3 separate regions of the Homo sapiens genome follow, and all the other regions are linked to region 1. Evidence: promoter capture Hi-C in 16 types of primary human blood cells and fetal thymus (Javierre and others, 2016). All regions are on one chromosome and are shown on one strand. The core of a region is centred on a gene start or on the middle of the fragment in contact, and the rest is flanking DNA. Distances in the headings are between cores, read along the strand shown. Region 1 holds the start of IKZF1 (IKAROS family zinc finger 1). Region 2 overlaps GRB10 (growth factor receptor bound protein 10). Region 3 overlaps GRB10 (growth factor receptor bound protein 10).

Region 1 (4,529 bases), core at 1,415-3,914:
TCTGTAAGCTGGAGTGGAGCCACTTACATCAATCTCCCTTAGAATATGACAAGAACCAACATTTATTTCATAGTGAAATTATTTCACAAGTCCAAAGATTAGAGGAGGAAAAAAAAAATGCCACAAAACAGTGATATCCTTGATGAATTCTTCGTTAACCACAGTTACATTACATTAATACGTACAATTATGCAACACTCAAAAAACGTTATTTATGCCTAAAATTCACCATTATATAACATAGGGAAATCCATCTTGTTTTAGTAAAAGTTTAAAAATAAAGGGGGCCTTTAATACTCATTTCAGGTCTGTTTGATGTTAAAACTCTTCCACACTGCCCCATGCCTCTCACTCCACGCTGTGTGCATGCTGTGTGTGTGCACGCTCTGTGTGCATATGTGCATATGCACATGGAATTTATTTCATGTATCTGTTAATAAATGCATAATCTTGAAGTGTGTGTATAAGTACATTAATATATAGAGAGTTCTTTCCTATTTCAAAATTTTTGACATTTATATTGAAAATATGCTATATTAACCACGCATGAAACACACACATCCAAATCAAGAACAAAAAATGTATCCAAACCAAAGAACCACTGTTCTCAAACTCCAAGTCTCTAGTCAAACAAGGAAGACAGTGGCCTGCAGTACAACAGGGCTTTAGACCTCTTGGCTAATACATTCACTGCGATCTTAGTTTTTCGACAAAGGAAATGGCTACAAACGGCCACAGCTGATCTTCTCTTTAGGAGCCTGTGTAAAACTCTTCGAAAGGGTCAAACCTAACACATCCAGACTTTTATCTGCAGCCCTTGTGGTCTCCTGGAGACCCTGAGGGTGGGTGATTATTGCTATGATGTTTCTGCATTAGGGGGGTGTGTAGTTTTCCAAGAGGTACCACTCTAATTAGAACACTGATGAATTAAACAAGTACTGGAGAGTTTCTAAACTCCTTCCTTCAACTCTCACCGTGAAACAAAAGGGGAAGAAAACATGACCATTTAGTTCAATAAAATGTTCTGGTCACCAGCTCTGATTGACTGTGAGACTTAAGAGTCACGTTTTTTTTCATGTAAAAAATGTATGAAATATGTTCATGGTGAAATTGGAAATCAGATACATTCCATCAAGCAAGAATAGTGTAGTATTTTTAATGTGACATCATTATTTGTATGTGTACACATTATTTCTTTAACTTGTTCTGCATTTTACAAGATGCCAGCGTAAGAAGGTGAATCTTCTTGTCATGAATATTTGCCTCGTGTACATTTTAAGCCATAGCCCAAATGATCTGATTTGTCACGGAAATAATTCTGACACATTCTAATATAAATAATACTGAAATTGTTACTTTTTAAAATTCCATATAAAAGATGAGTACAATAAAACTCATTGAACAAACATCTTCAAACAAAGAAATAAACTCAAGAGGACCCAGGACATTTCTATGTGGGTCCCCCCCACCCCTCGACTCATAACCAAATTGAACCTGGCCTTAAAAGCATTTGAATGTCTATGAAAGTTTAAATATCATACGCAGTATTTTCAAATTCCATAAATTTTCCTCTTTTAACAGAAGTTGATGGGACTAGTAAGGAGACATTTCCTCAACACCATTTTGTCTGGAATTTTAAAACAAGGTATCTCAAAGCTGAAATATACTGCCTGCGGCGCAGTGGGAAATTGTGAGTGGGTAACCTAAGCAAAGCGCACCGCATTGAAATTCAGTCTGGGTGGGCTGCAGTCCCTAGAGAGAGGGAAGCTGCATTTGAAAGCTGTGCCTGGTCAGACCCTATGGAATCGCTACGGTTTTCGGTCATTAGATGCCTCCAAATTAGAAGGAAAAACAAGCCCTCACGAGGTTCCTTAGGCATCAGCAGCGATGCTTGACAAATATTTAAAATACATTTCAAATATAACCGCAAGTAACCTGATGCCTTAATATTACTAAGGGTTTTCCTGAGAAGGTTTGGTGACTTGAGCGTCAAACCTGCGGTCAGCAAAAGGACTAACTTTTCAAAGCCGGGATAATTCCTCTCTTGCAGAAATTAAGTTCAGACTCGATCTCATCATATTTATAGTATAAAAAGAAAGCTCCCGGCTCAAATATAAGGAAAACTCTTTACACACGACTTTATAAAGGCTGACTTCCGTGGGTATATGTAGGTCTACATAAATTTAAATATGGTTGGGAGCTAGAACTCCTCTCCTGGTGACAGCGGGGCTGCTCAGAAGTGTCCCATGTCGGCCTGGTCCTGCACCTGCTGGCACAGTGCAGAGCAACAGACGCTTGACAGAAGTGAACTCTCTCACTGTCCTCAGAAAAGAGAGGCGGACCTGAGCGACACCAGGGTCTACCAACCTTACCGCTTTTCTTTACTGTGTTTTTTTTTTTTTAAATTCACCAGTTACCCCAAGTTTTCCTATTGAAATTCAATTTGAAAACACTCACGTGGATTTGTGCGTCGCGCTTTGGGGCCAAGACTGATCCTCGGGTGCGAAGAGCAACCTCGGAGCCGGGGCTCCCTCTGCCCTGCCAGGCTTGCCCGCCTCGCCGCGGCCGAGCGTCCCGCCCAGGCTGGGATGCGCCGCGCGGGGACCCAGGGGGCTTGCCGCAGTCACCGCCCCGGGCGCGGGCCGCGCAGTCACTTGTTAGAGTGTCCTGCTAACTTGGCCGCGGAGCTCTTCCCAGCTTTCTTTCACAATGACTTCCTGAAGTTGCTCACTCGCATTGTTCCCCATTTCTCCGCCACACTCCCCGCCCCCAGCCGGCTCAGACCAGGCTTTCGCGCTCCCGGCCGACCGGCTGCCCCGCGCGCACAGCGCCGCCCGCGGGCCCCGTACCTGGCCCCCTCCGCGCCGGCCGCCCCCGCCGCGCCCTTGCGTTGCCACCAGCTGCCGCCCAGAGCGGCGGGTGGCCAGAGCGCGCGCCCTGCCACCCCGCAAACTTTGGGGTGACGCACGCTGGCGGTCCCTGCTCGACCTGCCCCGCAGCCGGCTCGGCCCCGCGCGCACCTCTCGGCCGCCTCCCGGATCGCTGCTCCGGTACAGGGAGCGGGGCGCGCAGAAGGGCGCAGAGCGGGACACGGAGAGGGTGCGTCGTCCCGTCCCCGCCCCGTCGCCGAGTCCCCCGGCTCGCGCGGCGCGCGTCTCAGCCGCAACTCCGGGCCAGAGGGGCCGCGCACGAAAACTTTGCAATCGCGCCGGGCTCCGGCTCAGCCCCCAAAGGCCGCCGGGGCGGCGGCGGGTGCGGGCCGTACCTGCTGGCGCCGCCGCCGGCTGCAGCCCGCTCGCCCGCGCCGGGCCCGCTCGGCGCGCCGCCGCCACCCCCGCGCGCACCGCGCCCGGGCCCTCCCCTCGCCGCCGCGCTTCCTCATTCCAGCGCAGCATCGCGCCGCGGCCCCGCACGGGATGCGGCGGCCGGCGCTGTGTCCGCGGGCCGGGCAGCCCGGCTCGGCCGCGGCGCTGCGGGACCCGCGCGTAACCCGTGGGGGCGCGGCGCGGGCGACACGTGCGGGCCGCCAGGAGGGGGAGGGGGACGCGCGCCGCCGGGCCCGCCACCCTGCACCCGGGGCCGCTGGTCGGTCGGGGCACCCTCACGCTCGCCCCGCTGGCGAGACTGGAGGGACTCGGGACATCGTAAAGCACTTTCCCCAGTGTCTGGGAGCGCCCGCTGTACGCTCAGCTTCACGTCCCTGGAACTGGGGCCCCTTGGCTCCCGGGTTCAGGCTCCGGCCCCAGGATGCGAGTGCCCACCCGAGGGGGTGGGAAAAGTTGATCCTCCGCAAGGGAGGGGAAGGTGCAATTCATTTTCCCAGACAACCAATGGAATACCTCTCGTCTCTCTTCCCTCCCACCTGCTCACGGCAGAAGTTAGGATGGCGCCTTCCATGTTGGCCTGGGTGCACACACAAGTGCGTGCGGAAGGGTGGCTGCAGGCGGAGGTGACAGCGAAGCAATCCCGCAGCCCGCTCGACGGCTCTTTGCGTCTCAGACCTCTCCCTGGCGTGTAAGACACCGTGTGTCTCCGTAAAACGGGAATGCCACATCTGACAGCGCACCCCTTCGCCCTACGGGGAGCCCCTCACTCTAATTAGCCGGGCTCCACCCGAGCAGGAGCCAGCAATGTGTTCAGCTTGAGCAGGAGAGAAAAAGTCATGAATTCCACAAATGCAGCCTGGGCTCCCGCCAGGCGCTAGGGGAGGGGACCCAGAGGAGTGAGATGCGCCTCCTGCCCTTCCAGACTTGTAGGAGCCACCAGGAAGGCACAGAATAAAAATCCCGGGCACCCCTGTGAGGAGGAGCGCCCTGTGAAGAGGGCCGAGAACGTGCTCCTGCTTGGGCGCGGTGGTTCGGGAAGGCGTGAAGACCCATAGGGAGAGCGATGAAAGACCAAGGGAGCCTCCTCAGGGTAGGACATGCAGGCGAAGAAGGCACAGGCCTTCCGGGTGGAGGACACAGCCGGGCAAGGGAATAAGCAGGAAATGTCCCTTCAGGGCAGTTGAGTGTGGCTGGAGACCATCG
Region 2 (4,529 bases), core at 1-2,500, 430 kb before region 1:
CTCACACAGTTTCCGGGCTGGCTAGGTTCCTTTAAGCAGATGAGCTGTGTTTTCAAAGAGCGGGAGTCACAGGAAGAGGTGGCATAAGAGCTGTGGTGTTTGCTGGGAATGTTTCTGGCTCTCCTGAGTCAGGGAGGAGAGAAATGAGGACTGAGGGGTGAAGAGGGAATAGAAAGAGAAAGGCCAGTGGGCCAGCCTCTCTGTGCCCTGGACAGCACTTGGATGTGAAGGGGCAGGCATGGGAGGGGACGTGAGGGAGCGGGCCCTCCAACTGAAGTTGGTGACCCCGATGTTGACCACAAGCCCAAACACAGCCCTGCCCTATTTTCAAACTGTAGGTTTCAACCTGTTACCGGGTCTTGAAATCAAGTTAGTAGGTCATGAAAAGCGTTTTTAATAAATACAGTAGAACAGAAAAGGAAATATGAGAGTGGATTGCATGGGTTCTTAGCATGCACTTAGTACGTTGCCATGTGTGATGAGCCACATGCCATGCGGGATAGACAAGGTGAGCATGGATTGGTCACGGATGTGTCATTTGGTCATCTGCTTACTGGCATTGGGTTAGAAGATGTCTATTTGACTATCTTTTCAGAAGGGAGGGTAAACGCTCTACAGTTTAAATCCACCATAAACATAATTTGCAATTAGCTGCGAGGTGAGGGCCTAAGAGTATCATCTACAGTCTGCTAGACTCTAGAGTTTCAGTTAGGAACACCCAATGTACTTTTCAGAAAAAGTGTTATTGGGTGCAACATTTTTGAAGTTTATGACAGTTGTATCATTTTAATTTAACTAGTACAAGTTGCCCTAACATGGAAAAACAAAAAACAACCCATATAATCGGAAACACAAAGACGTTCAACTTCAGCTGCTGGATCCAGAAGTGTAAATATTGGCATTGTTAAGAAAAATGTTGACTTTAGAATGAGTAAACTTTTGACTCTGCTTGAACGATTTTTCTGAACTATAGTCCAATAAAGAAGTTTAAGCTTTATCATGAAGATTATTTAAATTTTCATTAATTAAAATAAACAAATTTTAATATATTATTTATAATGATAATCTTGCAAAGGAGGGTTTAACCTTCGACATTAAAAGAACAATGTGAAACCACCACAGCAAGCCAAACTTGTTAGTAGGCCCTTTTAATCAAGGGAAGCAAAAAGACAACAGATATTGATACAATTTCTTAATCATCTGACAACGGTTAATGAGAAAGTCTTTAGTTATTATAGACAGAAAGCTGCTATCTATCTACTGGCTTATAAAACTATTCCTCATTATCTGTGAATATGAATCACATATTTTGATAAATCAGCTGATGATTTAGAATCTGAACTCTTTAAAGTAGCACAGTAGATGATCCAGTTGTATAACTGTAGGATGTTCAGAAGTGAGCTTTTTATCTGGGCATGGTGGTGAACTCCTCTAGTCCCATAAGTCCCAGCTGCCTGGGAGGCTAAGGATTGCTTGATCCCATGAATTTGAGGCTGCAGCAAGCTTTGATCACACCACTGCTCTCCAGCCTGAGTGACAGAGGGAGACCGTGTCCCTTAACATTCCATGTATGTATATACCACATTTTGTTTGTCTGTTGATGAATTATCCATTAATTCATCAGTGGACACTTAGGTTGCTTCCACCTTTTGGCTATTGTGAATAGTGCTGCTATGAACATGGGTATAGAAGTACCTGAGCCTCTGCTTTTGATTAGTTTGTATTATATGCTTAGAAGTGGAGTTGCTATTATATGCTTAGAAGTGGGTCATATGTTAATTCTATGTTTAATATTTTTGAGGAATCACCATATTATTTTCAACCACAGCAACACCATTTTGCATGCCTACCAGCAATGCTCAGGGGTTCCAGTTTCTCCACATCCTCACCAATACTTGTGGTTTTATTTTTTATATCAGTCAGCCTAATGAGTGTCAGGTGGTATCTTGTTGCAGTTCTGATTTGCATTTCCCTAACGACTAGTGATGTTGAGGACCTTTTCATGTGCGTTTTGGCCATTCGTATATCTTCTTTGGAGAAAAGTCTATTCAAGCCCTTTGTGCCTTTTTAGATGAGGTTGCTTATGTCTTTTGTTGTTGAGTTGTAGGCATTCTTTATTGCATTCGTCTGTTTTTTTTGTTTCTTTGTTTGTTTGTTTGTTTTTGAGGTAGAGTTTTGCTCTTGTCGCCCAGGCTGGAGTGCAATGGCGTGATCTCAGCTCACTGCAACCTCTGCCTCTGGGTTCAAGCAATTCTCCTGCTTCAGCCTCCTGAGTAGCTGGGATTGCAGGTGCCTGCCACCATGCCCGGCTAATTTTTGTATATTTAGTAGAGATGGGGTTTCACCATGTTGGCCAGGCTGGTCTTGAACTCCTGACCTCAGGTGATCCACCTGCCTCGGCCTCCCGAAGTGTTGGGATTACAGGTGTGAGCCACCACGCCCGGCCTAGTCTGTTGTTATATTGCTATAAAGAACTACCTGAGACTAGGTAACTTATAAAGAAGAGATAAAGAAGAGAGGTTTAATTGACTCACAGTTCCGCAGGCTGTACAGGAAGCATGGCTGGGGAGGCCTCAGGGAACTTAGACTCATGGAGGAAGGTGAAGGGGAAGGAAGCACATCTTACGTGGCTGGAGCAGGAGAAAGAGTGAAGAGGGAGGTGCTACACACTTTTAAACAGCCAGATGCTATGAGACCTTTATCATGAGATAGCACTAGGGGGATGGTGTTACGCCGTTAGAAACCACCCCCATGATCCGGTCACCTCCCATCAGGCTCCATCTCCAACGCTGGGGATTACAGTTCAACATGAGATTTGGGTGGGGACACAGAGCCAAACCATATCATTTATATATTCTGGGTTTTAATCCCTTATCAGATAAATGCTTTGTAAGTATTTTTTCCCATTCTATGTGTTGTCTTTACAATCTTTTGATAGCATCCTTTGATGCACAAACATTTTGAATTTTGGTGAAACCCAGTTTATTTTTTCTTCGGCCTGCACCTTTGGTGTCATATCTGAGAAATCATTGTCATATTTAATGTCATGAAGATTTTTCCCTGTCTTTACTTCTAAGAGTTTTATAGTTTTAGCTCTTACGTTTAGGTCTTTCATACATTTTGAGTTGCTTTTTGCTTATGGTGTAAGTTTAGAGTCCAGCTTCATTTTGTTGCATGCTGATGTCCAGTTTTCCTAGGACCGTTTAAAAAAAATTGGTTATTTTTATTTTTTTGAAACAGTCTCACTGTTGCCCTGGCTGGAGTGTAGTGGCGTTAATCACAGCTCACTGCATCCTCAATTCCTGTGCTTAATTTGATCCTTCTGCCTCAGCCTCCCAATTAGCTGGGACTACAGTGCACGTGACCATGCCTGGCTAATTTTTTTAGAGGCGGTGTTTCACCATGTTGTTCAGGCTGTTCTCAAACTTCTGGGCTCAAGCAATCCACCTGTCTCTGCCTCCCAAAGTATGGGGATTACAGGCGTGAGCCACCATACTCAGCCCCCAGAACCATTCATTTATTGAAAAGCCTGTCTTTTCCTCAGCGAATGGTCTTGGCATCCTTACTGAAAATCAGTTGACCATATATGTGAGGATTTATTTCTGGGCTGTTTGTTTTATTTCATTGGTGTATGTTAGTCCTTATGTTAGTACCAGACTGTTTTGATTACTGTAGCCTGGTAGTAAGTTTTTTTGTTATTGTTCATTTTGTTTTCTTTTGTTTTTTTGAGATGAAGTCTGGCTGTGTTGCCCAGGCTGGAGTGCAGTGGCGCAATCTCGGCTCACTGCAACCTCCACCTCCCAGGTTCAAGCAATTCTCCTGCCTCAGGCTCCCAGGTAGCTGGGATTACAGGCACATACCACCACACCTGGCTAATTTTTGTAGTTTTAGTAGAGGTGAGGTTTCACCATGTTGGCCAGGCTGATCTCGAACTCTTGACCTCAAGTGATCCGCCCGCCTTGGTCTCCAAAGTGCTAGGTTTACAGGCGTGAGCCACCATGCCCAGCCGTTAGTAAGTTTTGAAATCGGGAAGTGTGAGTTCTCCGTGTTGTTCTTTTTCAAGATTGTTTTGGCTGTTCAGGTCCCTTGAGAAGCCATATGAATTTTAGGATGGCTTTTTGTTTTGTTCTGTTTTGTTTTTTTTCCTGTAGTTTACTCAAAAGGCAAACAAAAAATCTTTCATTTTATATATATCACAATATTATATAAACGTCTTTTTCAAAAGAGAAAACCAAATTTCATGTTTGTATTAGTGCATCTTTAATGCTAAAGCTACTTTTTAATAAAATTTTTTAAATCTGTCTAGTTTTAATTAGTTTTTATTAGTTTTAATGAGTTTGACCATAAGGTAAGATTTTCATAAACTTTTTAGAGTCCTTTACAGTTTTTCATTGAATAGCAGATCACTTTTTTTAAGGAAACCCTGTTACTCAGACACATGGGCCCACATTCTGGCCCTGCATCAGTGTGCTTTCATTTTCATGTTCAACCTACAGAAAAACCTAAATCATCCCCTTTCAATCTTAGCC
Region 3 (4,529 bases), core at 1,387-3,886, 380 kb before region 1:
TGGCATCACCTGGAGGGTAACCTGGGAACAATTCAATTTAAAAACTGCGTTTGTTTTTTAATTATTATTTTTAATTGTGGTAAAATATACCTAACACAATTTACCACCCTTACCATTATTTTTTATTTTTTGTTTTTTATTTATTTTTTTTGAGATGGAGTCTCGCTCTGTCACCCAGGCTGGAATGCAGTGGCATGATCTCAGCTCACTGCAATGTCCACCTCCCGGGTTCAAGCGATTCTCCTGCCTCAGGCTCTTGAATAGCTGGGATTACAGGTGCACACCACCACACCTGGCTAATTTTTGTATTTTTAATAGAGACAGGGTTTCGCCATGTTGATCAGGCTGGTCTCGAACTCCTGACCTCAGGTGATCCACCCGCCACGGCCTCCCAAAGTGCTGGGATTACAGGCGTGAGCCACTGCTCCCAGCCCATCCTTACCATTTTTAAATGCACATTTCAATGGCATTAAGAACGTTCACATGGTTGCACAACCTTCACCACCATCCATCCATAGAACTCTATTCATCTGGCAAAAATGAAACTCTGTACCCATCAAATAAATAACACCCCATTTCCTTCCCTAGCCCCTGGCCACCACCATTCCACTATCTCTAGGAATTTGACTACTCCAGGGACCCCATGAGCAGAATCAGATAGTGTTTATCCTTTTGTGACTGGCTTATTATGTCCTCAAGGTTCTTCTGAGTTCTAGTGCGTTTCAGAGGCACCTTCCTTTTTTGTGGCTGAATAATATTCCATTGTGTGTATATGTGCCACATTTTCTTCATCTGTTCATCTGTTGAGGGGCACTTGTGCTGTTTCCGCCTTTGGGTTGTGAATAGTGCTGTTGTGAACAAGGGTGTACGATTATCTGTTGAAGTCCCTACTTTCAATTTTGGGGGGTATATACCTGCTTTTACTTTTTAAAAATAGAACAAAGAAAGAAAAACAAATTTGTATTTCTTCTAAGCTTTGAAGATATTTAATTATTGAATATGAATAAGCCCAAATTTCCCCATTGCAACATTTCAGTGTGAGCGTTGAGATTTAACAGATTTATGTTTCCCTCCCCTTTGAATTGGACCAGAAAATATATGCTGACAGTTACTAATTAATAAAAACCATTTTCTGTCATGAAATCTCATTCCTTAGGCCACCTTTCCTCTCTGATTCAAATATATTTTCCAAAGTGTAAATACTCATTTCTGATTTAAAACTTTTCAAACCACTGCTATAAAGTGACAAGCCAAAAAGTACAGAAACAAAGTAGTATATATATTGGTTTTTAACTTGTCAAATACTTAACTGGAAATACTAAAGGCCTGAAAGATAAAAAGCAAAAATGAGGGTCATCCCTTTGTTCGGGTGATGTTGAGCCGACATGATCATTGATTTTCAAATACGGTTACCAATCCTTTTCACACACTTACCCAAAAACACCAAATAGCAGATATCATGGCTCTGACCCTGCCTGAGGGCACGTTAATGACTTTTCCCACCTAAATCCCAGAGCCTGGGGAAAACGTCAGCAGAGGTGTAGGCCAAAATGAGCAGAGCCTAGCAATCTACCCAAACAGATGCCAAGGCAGGCTGCCACCTGCCAAACTCTCTTCCTCACTGGAGTGACTCACCACACTCTGGACAAAGGGGTCAGGGGCTCCTAAAATTGCTGTGTTTAGCCAACTGCTCCAGGCGTTCTGAGGTGAGCTACGATCCCTTCTCAAGAGTCTCTGGATTCCCTTATGCCCTTCAGGTCCCTTCCCAATATCTTGGTTCCCAAGGTGGCCAGTGCTGGGGGGCAACAGAAACATTGGGTTGAGTGGGTAGCAGGGCTGCCTCCAGCCAAGGAAAGCAAAGCCCCCTACCATCTCCTGCTCTGTTTCTTCTAAGGATCACCTGACACACTCAGGATTCATCAACCCGGGGCTCAGAGACTCCTCTGCTCAGCACTGACACACCCAGAGTCAGAAATTCTATTAGGTTGGCAGCCCTGGCTGGTGAAATTAAACTCCTACCAGGCGCAGAAGCAGGAAGGCTAGGGCAAAATGACTTAAAAGGGGAAGTTACACCTCACATGGAAGGCAAGGGTGCAGCCCCCGTGAAACGTGAAAAATGCAAATGGAAACTTGAAGAAAGCATGTCAAATGTTTACTTTTGCATTTTGAAGGAGCCCCATAAACTCAAATACACTCAGATGCCCAGGCAGTCTTTTCAGTGCTTCATGGCAGGCTCCGTGTGCACACAGAGGAAAGAGGCTCATAAACCAGATTATTCTGGCAACAGAATCATTTCCTGGTTGTTGCGTTGTAAGAATCCTCTCTCCTTCCACAAGGGAGATATGATTTTAGCAGCTCATTTGTAAAATACAGGTTTTTCTCTATCCACTGTTAACAGTCACATTTTCAAGGAAACAAAGAAGAAAGGGTCTGGAGAGCCTTAAGGTCGGGCGGCATCCTGGGAGCCATAAACACCATCGCCCCTCGAGTTGGGACTAAGAGGAGGCCGGAAGACTGGAGCAGCTTGCCTAAAGTCCAAAAGGGCCAGGGATGCAGCTCAGGGCTGTCTGCATATCCGATGGTAGTCTTTGGGGTAGAGCCGGAGGCTTCTCCGTGGAGGGGCTCCCCTTCTTGTCTCCCAGCCTTCTGCACCCTGCCAGGCAGCTCATGAGCTGTGCCTGCTCTGTGCCTCATCTTCGTGGTTGTAGACTGAGATTTGGCTCTCAGTCGCTTCTTAGTTGCTTTGAATCTAAATAGCAGCCATAGATACTTAAACACTCAAAGGGCGGGGTAGTGCTTTATTTAGAAAGAATGTGTATATTTAAATGTAGCTTTAAGGAGAGCAGAGGACAGATTTTATGAAAGCAGAGAATCAGTAGTCTCCATATTTTGTGTTATCTGTAGAATTGTTGAGTAGGGCCCTGGATCTGTAAGTCATATTGGGATCTTCTTGGAGGAGGGTCTGGATGGAGTTTCAAGGTAGCAGAAGACAATGCCCCTGCCCTCAGGGAATTGGATATAGGATTAAATATGCATGCAGCCTTCCTGGATACACTAGCCTGCATTTGTCTTAGGAGAAGAAAAAAAACATTCTAAGAAAAATAATTAAGAAACCACCTGTAAATAGTAATCAGGAACAAGTGAGTGTAGCCTCAGCAGACTGAGAGGATCCTTGTGATTTTAGCTTTGTCTAACTATGTTATGCCCAGGATATATGTTTATTTTTGTCCCATTTTATGTCATCACAAACTTTGAATATGCTTTGGATGGCGATTCTGCCCATGTGGCCTGTGGGTCCTGGGAGTCGGAGTGGAGACTTCTGAGTCTCCATAGGCACCAGCACTGATTGGAGCCCTGCCACTGCCCATTAGCATAGGCCACGACTCTTTTGCAGATGTGTCTGTACATAATGAAAAACCAAAAAACGTATATTCTTACAAATTGTTAAATTCATCAGTTTGTTGATATGTGTTTTCTCAATTACTAGAGACTGAAAATGGTGGTTCCCCTTGTCTTTTGTGAGCTGGGTAGAGAGGAGAGGATGCCATTTTCAACAAAGGTTGGGAGAAGGAAGTTTCTCTTATAAACACTGAAAGCCAAGAGTTATGACTGTGTAGCTCTTTCTAGGTACAAGGATATTTATATGCATTTGCTGGACAGACTAATTCTAGGGATTTTATTTTCTGCCTCAAATCCTGCCTGTGTGTAGGAACCCGTGAAATAAAGCATTGATTCCATTTGTATTTTTATTTGGAGTTGTGGTTAGGTGGTTTGCTTTTGTGTTTGCTGAATATCTTTAAATACCATAAATATGATAGAGAAGAATACTCTAACCATATAATACCTGGTTTTCTTATTCTACTTACTTATGTCCAAACTCTATATATGGGAAATTAAGTGCATGTGACTAGAATACATGAGAATAGAAGATAAATTGTTGTTCAGAAAGCTGTTTCAGTAGAAGGTTAAGTTATATTTGCACAAAGTTTTAATTGGTTAGAAGTTAACAGAAATTGCTTGCCAAGTGAACATGGTCTAGTGGAAAACACTTTTGCAGCCTGACCTTCACTTCTTTTCTAGATAGAAATGTGTAAGGACTTTGGCTTTTGCACATGTGTTAGAGACTTTTCATGTAAAGTGCCATTTATCTGTTTCTTAGGGACTGAATCTGCTTTGACTTAATGATATACCCCCACCCCAGCTGTTTATGACTTAACAGGGTATATCTTCCATATGAAAATGGGGGAAGGGGGTAGTGGAGAAAGCTCTGAAGGCATCGCACACTGATGGAAGCTTGTGTAGGTCTGTGAAGAAGGGATCGTAATGGACACGTCCTAAACACATGGTGCAAATAACATGTCCTTATGTTGCCAAATCATTTAGTAAAGTGAATCCAGTGTCATCTTTAATCCCTAAACAATGTAAAGAAGACACTAGATGGTGCTGTAAACTAAGAAATGTATTGGTGAAGGTGGTGAGATGGTGCTAGAAGTTAAATCCTCTGTCCCCGGAGTTTCTCTGTCCTCTTT

The links. The method cuts DNA at HindIII sites, captures the fragments that hold promoters and counts their contacts. A CHiCAGO score of 5 or more calls a contact.
Region 2: a contact is called between a fragment that was not itself captured here and the fragment with the promoter of IKZF1 in region 1, in 5 of 17 cell types (naive CD8 T cells, fetal thymus, total CD4 T cells and 2 more). The highest score is 7.8, in naive CD8 T cells.
Region 3: a contact is called between a fragment that was not itself captured here and the fragment with the promoter of IKZF1 in region 1, in 7 of 17 cell types (fetal thymus, M2 macrophages, total B cells and 4 more). The highest score is 8.4, in fetal thymus.

What each region holds. Positions count from the first base shown.
Region 1 is chr7:50,302,851-50,307,379 of GRCh38, reverse strand. IKZF1 (IKAROS family zinc finger 1) reads right to left here and starts at 2,664. Exons shown (of 8, transcript NM_006060.6): 1 at 2,458-2,664. RefSeq lists a silencer at 2,552-3,351 and an enhancer at 4,206-4,529. The HindIII fragment of the contact is 6,071 bases long and covers 1-4,529 here.
Region 2 is chr7:50,735,484-50,740,012 of GRCh38, reverse strand. All of the region lies in intron 3 of GRB10 (growth factor receptor bound protein 10), which reads left to right. Among named protein-coding and RNA genes, the nearest start is that of GRB10, 45 kb to the left of the region's middle. The HindIII fragment of the contact is 511 bases long and covers 995-1,505 here.
Region 3 is chr7:50,679,359-50,683,887 of GRCh38, reverse strand. All of the region lies in intron 5 of GRB10 (growth factor receptor bound protein 10), which reads left to right. Among named protein-coding and RNA genes, the nearest start is that of GRB10, 100 kb to the left of the region's middle. The HindIII fragment of the contact is 3,319 bases long and covers 977-4,295 here.